Regions from separate parts of the Homo sapiens genome. Here all the other regions are linked to region 1. Evidence: promoter capture Hi-C in 16 types of primary human blood cells and fetal thymus (Javierre and others, 2016). All regions are on one chromosome and are shown on one strand. The core of a region is centred on a gene start or on the middle of the fragment in contact, and the rest is flanking DNA. Distances in the headings are between cores, read along the strand shown.

What was found. The method cuts DNA at HindIII sites, captures the fragments that hold promoters and counts their contacts. A CHiCAGO score of 5 or more calls a contact.
Region 2: a contact is called between a fragment that was not itself captured here and the fragment with the promoter of VTA1 in region 1, in 1 of 17 cell types (fetal thymus). The highest score is 5.1, in fetal thymus.
Region 3: a contact is called between a fragment that was not itself captured here and the fragment with the promoter of VTA1 in region 1, in 1 of 17 cell types (fetal thymus). The highest score is 5.8, in fetal thymus.

The regions. Positions count from the first base shown.
Region 1 is chr6:142,145,771-142,148,686 of GRCh38, forward strand. VTA1 (vesicle trafficking 1) reads left to right here and starts at 1,493. Exons shown (of 8, transcript NM_016485.5): 1 at 1,493-1,629. The coding sequence starts at 1,518. NMBR (neuromedin B receptor) reads right to left here and starts at 1,352. Exons shown (of 4, transcript NM_002511.4): 1 at 1,274-1,352. RefSeq lists enhancers at 1,222-1,516, 1,280-1,419, 1,674-2,194. The HindIII fragment of the contact is 1,973 bases long and covers 922-2,894 here.
Region 2 is chr6:142,935,497-142,938,412 of GRCh38, forward strand. The region is part of intron 1 of HIVEP2 (HIVEP zinc finger 2); the gene reads right to left. Among named protein-coding and RNA genes, the nearest start is that of HIVEP2, 8.2 kb to the right of the region's middle. The HindIII fragment of the contact is 2,164 bases long and covers 428-2,591 here.
Region 3 is chr6:142,689,039-142,691,954 of GRCh38, forward strand. No RefSeq gene overlaps it. Among named protein-coding and RNA genes, the nearest start is that of HIVEP2, 250 kb to the right of the region's middle. The HindIII fragment of the contact is 3,484 bases long and covers 1-2,916 here.

The DNA.
Region 1 (2,916 bases), core at 243-2,742:
CTGGTCCTTAACCCTAGACGTAACATTAAAATTACATGAGGACCTTTTAAAGATACTGACATTTAGGATCCCACCTAGAACAATTAAGTGAGAATGCCTGGAGTGGGCTTTAAAGTTGATCTTTAAGGGCAGCTGCGGTTGAGAATCAAGAAGTAATAGGAAACAAATAAATGAAAAGTTGTGAGTATAGAAAGAAAACAGTTATGGTTATCCAACTCTGCTTTTCTTCATTGATTTCTCTACCAATCTAGCAACTTTTGACTGGAAAGTCCAAATAGTGGGAGTAAGAGAAAGAGAAAGAAACCATACATTCTCCAGTGGTAGGAAATATGCCGCTGAGATTGGGGAAGAAGACAGAACTGAGTTTCAGGCTGAGTAAAAAAGCCCGACCCAGAATAAGATGATGGACTTTGCAAATAGGTCTAGGCAACGTATGTGGAGTGGGATAATATGAGGACATGGAGCGGTTTCTTCTGGGGGTGAGAGAGTGATCAGAAAATAGTAGGCAGAGGGGAATTTCCGAGCTGGAGATTTTGGCTCTTGGGGATAGTGTGATTTCAGTGAAAACTAGTTTTAAGATGAATTGTCAAAACTGAGGACTGAGATAAAATAAAGAAGGTTATTGGAGGAAGTAAATAAAGTGTACAGTCCTGAAAGATATAAGTAAGGGATGGAGAGGAGAGGAAGAGAATTGAAGTCATTGAGGGTAGAAGGAAAAGTGATGCCTACTGTACAATGGTTAAGAGTTACCAGCGTTGAAAACGTCCCAAACACCCTATCTTACATTAAGACAAGATAATAAATATGAAAATACTTTACAAATTGTTAATCACTCTCCAGAAAAAAAAAAGGTGATCTACAGATTATTCATTCACTAAAATACGTACTAGCCAGCTGAGAACAAAAGTTCAATCTTCTTTAAGCTTCATATGTTTAGCTTAATTTGGCGCGAAATCTGATTATTTTATCCAGTATGTCAACATAGAAAAATTTAATTTACAATTTAAACACATTATTTCTCTCTCATGCAAGTATTGAAATTAAAGTTTCTAAAATCAAAAAGGCTTCTAAAGGACACTGCTATATGGAATATTAATGTGGCATATTAACTGGAAGTGGTAATTCCTGAATGACGCCAAAGGCAATTCTCGCCTTTATACTTTCTCCCAGTCAACATACATTATTTTCTTGTTTTTCCTTTTCTATCCTTCCTTTTGCCACAAACAACAAACCAAACAAAAAAGCAAAACAAAACAAAAACCCTTCCTCCTACCAGCAGAGAGCGCTAGCGCCATGCGCGGCATAAGCGCCAAAATGCTCGGGTCTTCTGTGGGTTCTAACCGCCGAGAGCCAAGCACCCTGAGGTTGTCCCAGCTGGGGATCCGTAGTTGACTTGACGTCGCTGAGCAACGGAAGAGTGGGCAGCATTTGCTCTGAACGCTCGTGCGCGCTACCGCCCAGACGGAAGCGGAAGTGCCGGTGGAGCGCGAGTAGGAAGTGGTGAGTTCGGAGTAGAGATGGCCGCGCTTGCACCGCTGCCCCCGCTCCCCGCACAGTTCAAGAGCATACAGCATCATCTGAGGACGGCTCAGGAGCATGACAAGCGAGACCCTGTGGTGGCTTATTACTGTGAGTCTTTCCGAGTGGCCGCGCCCTTTCTTTCCCAGTTGCATTTTAGGGCCCACACACCTCCCTGAGGTTCTTGGGGCATGCCCCGCCCCCCTCGCTTTAAACCTGAGCTTTGACCTCGAGCCTACCCAGGGAACTCCCTGGGTTCCCACCCCCTGGCAGTAGGAATCCCAAAACACCATGGTGTCCACTGCTTCTCCTATCTTGTGCTTAAATGCTCCAGTACTGACTACACAGGCTCTTGAACTGTGGAATATAATCTTCCAAGGTTTTCTCTGTGTGTGTACACACAAGAGCTTCTTGTCTCAAATAGGAATCCTGAAAATAAATTGAGTTAGGTTTAAAACGAAGGTGAGTGTCCGAAAGAAGGAGTGATGTGGATAAAAGGACGATAGACTAGTTGAAAACATAGTAATAAGTGAATATTATTTATGACAGCATGCAAGCCCAATCAGAAACTCATTTGGTTAAATGGGGAGTATCTGCTACTAAATAAGCAGTTGAATTTGACCTTTCCCCACCCAGCTGCTCTCTCCTACCATGCAGAATTTTTAGTTTTGACTTCTTTGAATAATACCCGCTGTTGAGACCTTTGAAAGCAGTATTTTCACTTTGAGTGTTATACGTTGAATTTACAGTTTGATTAAAAAAAATATAGGTTAACTCTGCTCAAACTTGTAGTGAGTAAAGGGAGTGCCAGTAATTCTGTGTTAACTTTATTTTGTATTCTGTACTCTTAACTTTACTGCAAATAAAACAAGTAACTGGACAATTATAATTCTGAAAAGGATATTTAGAGTTGAGAAGTTGGATATAATGCGTCCATTGTTGTGTATATTGTAAGGTTAGCTAAAATCTGGTCACTGTTATCTCTGCCATACTCCAAATGTACCCTGTTTCTCAAATGTGCAAGGCCTTTTCAGACCTACCATCTTCCACTCTCTTGGAATGTGCACCTTTTTCTTGCACTTGGCAAACTCATGATTCAAGATCTAACCCAAATGTCACCACTTCTGTGGGCAGCAAATTGATTATTCTCTGTGCATTACTTCATTTTGTTCAAATTTTACAGCATCATTTTTATTATACTTGTTCTTCAGTTTCCTCAAGCAGGGTCCATATTCATTCAGTATGTGTTCATTGAGCTACCTTTGTATCAAGCATTAGTAGGCGCTGTGACTACATTTGCTGCATTTTTGGAGCTTACATACAATGGAGGTAGAGAGTTTCAACAATATAGAGTCTATCATACATAGAGTATTAAAAGCTTATGAAGACAAATAGAGC
Region 2 (2,916 bases), core at 260-2,759, 790 kb after region 1:
GCCCAGATCGCACCACTGCACTCCAGTGGGGGCAACAGAGTGAGACCCTGTCTCAAAATAATAATAAAGTAAAGGTGCACAGACTGATGAACTCTGGCTATTGGCACAAAGACTAGACAGGACTTGAGCTCCTGGAGGATCTCCTTCATCTGGTTCTCATGGCCCCCATCTTATAGTGTGGCAGGTGTTTTTCCTTACCATTTGGACCGTAAGCTTCTTGAGAATTATGACTTTAAACATCCACCAAATATCAACTGTATGCCCAGCACATGTCATACACTGTATTGAGCACACTTTTGTGAAAGTGAAACCATCCTAATCCACTAGAAATTTTATAGCAAAAATTATCAGTTAAAAGATGAATAATTCACTTAAACAAGATTAAAAATATAAACTCTGAATATAATTTAACTACTTCACTTTGGCAAGCTTATAAATGCATTTAACAATAGGATGTGTCACAAAAATTAGCCGCGCATGGTGGTGCCAGCCTGCAGTCCCAGCTACTCAGGGGACTGAGGCGGGAGATCATTTGAGCCCAGGAGGTCGAGGTTGCAGTGAACCGTGATCGCGCCACTGCACTCCAGCCTGGGTGACAGACCGAGAACTTGTCTCAAGAAGAAAAAAAAAGGATGTGTCATTTGTAAACCATTTTTTTCTTGCCCATAATAAAACAGCCAGCACTTAATTCTCTCTCTCTCTCTCTTTTTTTTTGAGATGGAGTCTCACTCTGTCAGACAGGCTGGAGTGCGGTGGGGCGATCTCGGCTCACTGCAACCTCTACGTCCCGGGTTCAGGCGATTCTCCTGTCTCTGCCTCCCAAGTAGCTGGGACTACAGGCACGTGCCACCACACCAGGCTAATTTTTGAATTTTAGTAGAGATGGGGTTTCATCATATTGGCCATGCTGATCTCGAACTCCTGACCTTGTGATCCACCCACCTCAGCGTCCCAAAATGCTGGGATTACAGCCGTGAGCCACCGCCCGACCACCAGCACCTAATTCTACTAATTCTACAGGTATGAAGGGCCATAATGCTGAACCATAAAAATGAATTTTTAAAAAATCTAGTGCTATAATATTTAGGTGTCAAAAACTACCTTACTATGAAATATATGTACATACACACATACACATATATATAAAATAAATGGGGTATTTCATTAGTGATTTAATAAGTCTTACGATGTTTCTTTGTTATTTGGGTTAAGAGAGACCACTATAAAAGCAGAGATCCTGTAAACACTGAAAAGTAATGCAGTGACTGAATTAGCCATAAAAAGTTTCTAAATTAGTCTACTAGAATGTAAACTCCATGAAGGCAAGGAATTTTTTTTTTTTTTTTTACTATTTTTGTCTATTGATGGATCTCCAGTGTCTAGAACAGCCCTTTCCCAGAGCAGGTGCTTAATAAATCTCTGTTGAATTAATAAATTTTTTTAGAATTAAAGTCAACAGTCCTGTGAACACCCAAGTTGAGTCTCTTAAGTAGGCCCAAGGCCCCACGAGTAATCACTGGTCCTCTGGCTCTTGCACAGAAGTTCGAGTGGGGTAAGGGGTAATTCAGGCCCCAAAAGCTATTTTTAGAGCAAAAACTTCAGAATGATTTTCCACAAAGAACCAGAGAATTTAGTTCACTTCATTGGCATAGCACTGGCTGAGCTCAGTGAGAAACACCCCAGATTTTAATTGATATTTCCATTTGTTAACTGTTAAATGTGAAACCATGTCATTCTAACATTGTTTCTTAAACCATTTCAGTCAAGAGTTTAATGGACCATTTGAAAATATTTAATATTTTACTGTCACAACAATTTGAATTGTCCTATGTTTTTCTTATAGTCTAATACCTTGTTAATAATAACCCATAGCTACCAGGTATTAAACGTTTACTATGTGCTCATTGAGATGGGTACAAACATTCTCATAAAAATTTCCCAATGACTCTTGAATGGGTATTATCCTCATTTTGTAACCTCAGGGAGGTTAAGTAACATACCCAAATTCCCCCAGGTGGTGGTGGAGCTGGAATTTGCCCTATTCTGTCTGACTTCAAATCGAGGTTCTTAATCCCGTGGGCTACCTGTTTATCCATATACTACTAAGGGGAAACATTGTGCTAAGTGATAAATATGGTTGGCCTTTTTTAAATATTTGAAATAATTTTGATGTGTAAACAATTGCTTATACTGCGTGAAATGGTAAAAAGACAAAGCATTTTCGGAGCCAAAGAACCCTGAGTTGGAATCCTGCTTCACCAATGACTAGCAAAGCATCCCCACAAAAACCTTTCCGAATGGAAGTTTCTTTAAGTATACACATCAAGATAAAAAACTAAATCTTCTCAGGTTGGTTGTGAGGGCTAAGTGACGTAATGTGGAGAGAGAGCCTGGGATGGAGCCTGGCACAGGTGAGTGCTCTTTAAGCCTAAATTGCCTTCCTTCTAACGGATTTGCTAAATTGGCACTGTGCTGATTTTTTTAAGTGTTTAGTTCATCCTTGTAATACCATAATTACAGAATATAATGACATTGCATTCTCTACAACTACAAAGTAGAATTTATAAACTGATAGAATATGAGCTGGAAGAAGCTTTAGGAGCCATCTGTTCCAATCTCTTCCATTTCCAAATGAGGTCCAAAGAGCTTCGATGACTTGTTTCCAAGTTTTCACAGAAAGTTAATTGCAAAGACAGGACTAGATCTTGCGTCCCTCCCACCCCCACTCCTGCTATACCCTTCGCTTTTGCTTCACATTACACAGGCATGGCAACGCATGTAATTTTCTAACAATTAAGCAGTATAAAATAACCTCAATTTAATTGCATCCAATTAACAAGCCAAATTAGCGTTTCATATGTACACTATTAAACTAGTTGTCTGCCTTCCAAAAGAAATAAAACACTGTTTCAAATA
Region 3 (2,916 bases), core at 227-2,726, 540 kb after region 1:
TTTTTAATTGGGCAAAGGACTTGAATGGACATTTCTCAAAAGAAGACATACAAATAGCCAACAGGTATATGAAAAAAGGCTCAACATCACTAATCACTAAGGGAAATGCAAATCAAAACCACAGCAAAATAGCACTTCACATATGTTAGATTGGCTATTACCATAAAAACAAAAGACAACAAGTTTTGGTGAGGATGTGGAGAAAAGGGAACCCTTGCACATAGGTGATGGAATGTAAGTAAGTTGGTACAGTCATGATGTAAAACACTGTGGAGGTTCTAAAAAATTTTTTTGAATAAAACTACCATATGATCCAGCAATCCCACTTCTGAGTTTATATCCAAAAAAAAAATTGAAATCAGGATCTCAAAGAGATAGTGCACAACCATGTTCACTATAGCATTATTCACAATGACCAAGACATGGAAACAACCTACATGTCCATCAGCAGATAAATGGATAAAAAATGTGGTCTATACACTCAATGGCATATTACTCGGCCATGTGGAGATCCTTCCACATGAAACAGCATAGATGAACCTGGAGGACATTATGCTAAGTGAAATAAGCCAGTTACAGAAGGAAAAAATCCTGCATGATTTTTCTTACATGAGGTAGCTAAAATAGTCAAACTTAGGGAAGCAAAGACTTGGACAGTGGTGCCAGGGACTGGGTAGAGGCAGAAATTGGGAGCTGTTGTTCAATGGGTATGAAGTTTCAATGATGCAAGATGCATGAGTTTTAGAGATCTGCTTTACAACACTATGCCTATAGTTAACTGCACTGTGCACTTAAAAATTTGTTAAAGAGTCTGGGTGCGGTGGCTCAGGCCTGTAATCCCAGCACTTCGGGAGGCCCAGGCGGGTGGATCACCTGAGGTCAGGAGTTAGAGACCTGCCTGGCCAACATAGTGAAACCCCATCTCTACTACAAATACAAAAAATTAGCCAAGCGTGGTGGCAGGTGCCTGTAATCCCAGCTACTTGGGAGGCTGAGGCAGGAGAATTGCTTGAACTGGGAGGCAGAGGTCGCAGTGAGCCGAGACTGCGCCACCGCACTCCAGCCTGGGTGACAGAGTGAGACTGCATCTCAAAAAAAAAAAAATTGTTAAAGAGAGTATATCACATTAAATATTCCTACAAAAATAAATAAATAAATGAATATTCTTTTTAAAAAATGTTTATTTTATTTTAAGTTCCAGATACATGTGCAGGACCTGCAGGTTTGTTACATAGGTAAACATGTGCCATGGTGGTTTGCTTCACCTATCAACCCAGCACCTACGTATGAAGCCCTGCATGCATTAGCTATTTATCCTGGTGCTCTCCCTCACCTCCCTTGCCACCAACAGGCCCCAGTGTGTGTTGTTCCCCTCCCTGTGCCCATGCGTTGTCATTGTTCAGCTCCCACATATAAGTGAGAACATGCAGCATTTGTTTGGTTTTCTGTTCTTGTGTTAGTTTGCTGAGGATAATGGATTCCAGCTCCATCCATGTCCCTGCAAAAAACATGACCTTGTTTCTTCCTATGGCTGCATAATAGTCCATGGTGTGTATGTACAATAAATATATATTCTTGCCTGATACAAACACACAGGTACACAAAGGTGCACAAGGAAACTTTAGGAGGTGAATATGTTTCTTGCCTTGATTTTAGTGATGGTTTCACAGGTGTATGCCTATATTAAAATTAATCAAACTGTACATTAAATATGCCAATTTACTTCAATAAGGGAGTTAAAAAATTAAAAATGAGACTGGTGGGAAGACCAGAAAGCAGTCTTCACATATTTAAAGGGTTGTCCTGCAAAAGAGGGATCAGACTTTTTATTGCATCTGGCTCTGGAGGACAGAGAAAGGGGCAAGGCATATAGATTATAAAGAGGTAAGGTTTAGCTTGATAAAAGGAAAAATCCTAATAATTATAGCTATTTAAAAACGAAATATGCTTATTGAACTTTTAAAGGTGATATTATGGACAAATACTTAATGAAAAAGGATAAAAGATGGTTCTAAAACATGAGTAGTACAATTCTTTTAGAATAAAGGTGTGCATACCCATGCACGCATGTGCACGCATGCACATGCACACACACACACACACATACGCACACCTGGGCACATACATCAGAATGTTCATGGTGTTTATCTCTGAGTGATAGTATTACAGATATTTTTAATTTTTATTTTGTACATTTTGGTTTTGTTTTCTAAAATTATTACAGTGAATGCAAATTATTTTTCTTATGACAGGAAAACACTGTACAGCAAAAATGGTTGTGGGACCTAGGGAGTTCTATTTTGTTGGAGGTGTTTGAGCAGAACCTGTAGTTGCTGTTGATAACTCCCAGGATGTTGAAAAGGAGACTGTTATAGACAGGAAGATGGCTATTACCTCTTTTAACCTCTATGGTGCTTCAGATTCTGAGAATCTATTGCACAAAATAATAATTATAACTAATAATTATAACCACTATAACTATTAACATATAACCTGTAGTTATTAATAGTTATGATTAATAAAGTCATAGAATCTCAGATTTGTCAGGGAACTCAGAAGTCAACTTTCCCAGCCAATGTAAGACAGTATGAAAAATCCTTGGCCACACATGCGGATAAAGGATTGCCCATGGCTGGGAATGTATATCCTTTCCTGCTGCTCACTGGTCTACACTAGCAGGTAAGAAACACATTTGTCTCTAAACACCCAGCCCAGTGGTACATGAAATGATCTTCATCTATTTGTTTCTCAAGCATGAAATGATAGCCTACACACAATCTTTTCATATTGTAGTCACTCTGTGATCTTTCAAAATGAAAATAAAGAGGTCTTGTCACTAGGTGTACAATCTATTTTCCTTGACTTGAAATCTCATCTTTTATTTCTTCAAAGCACATAAGGACTTTATCTTTAATT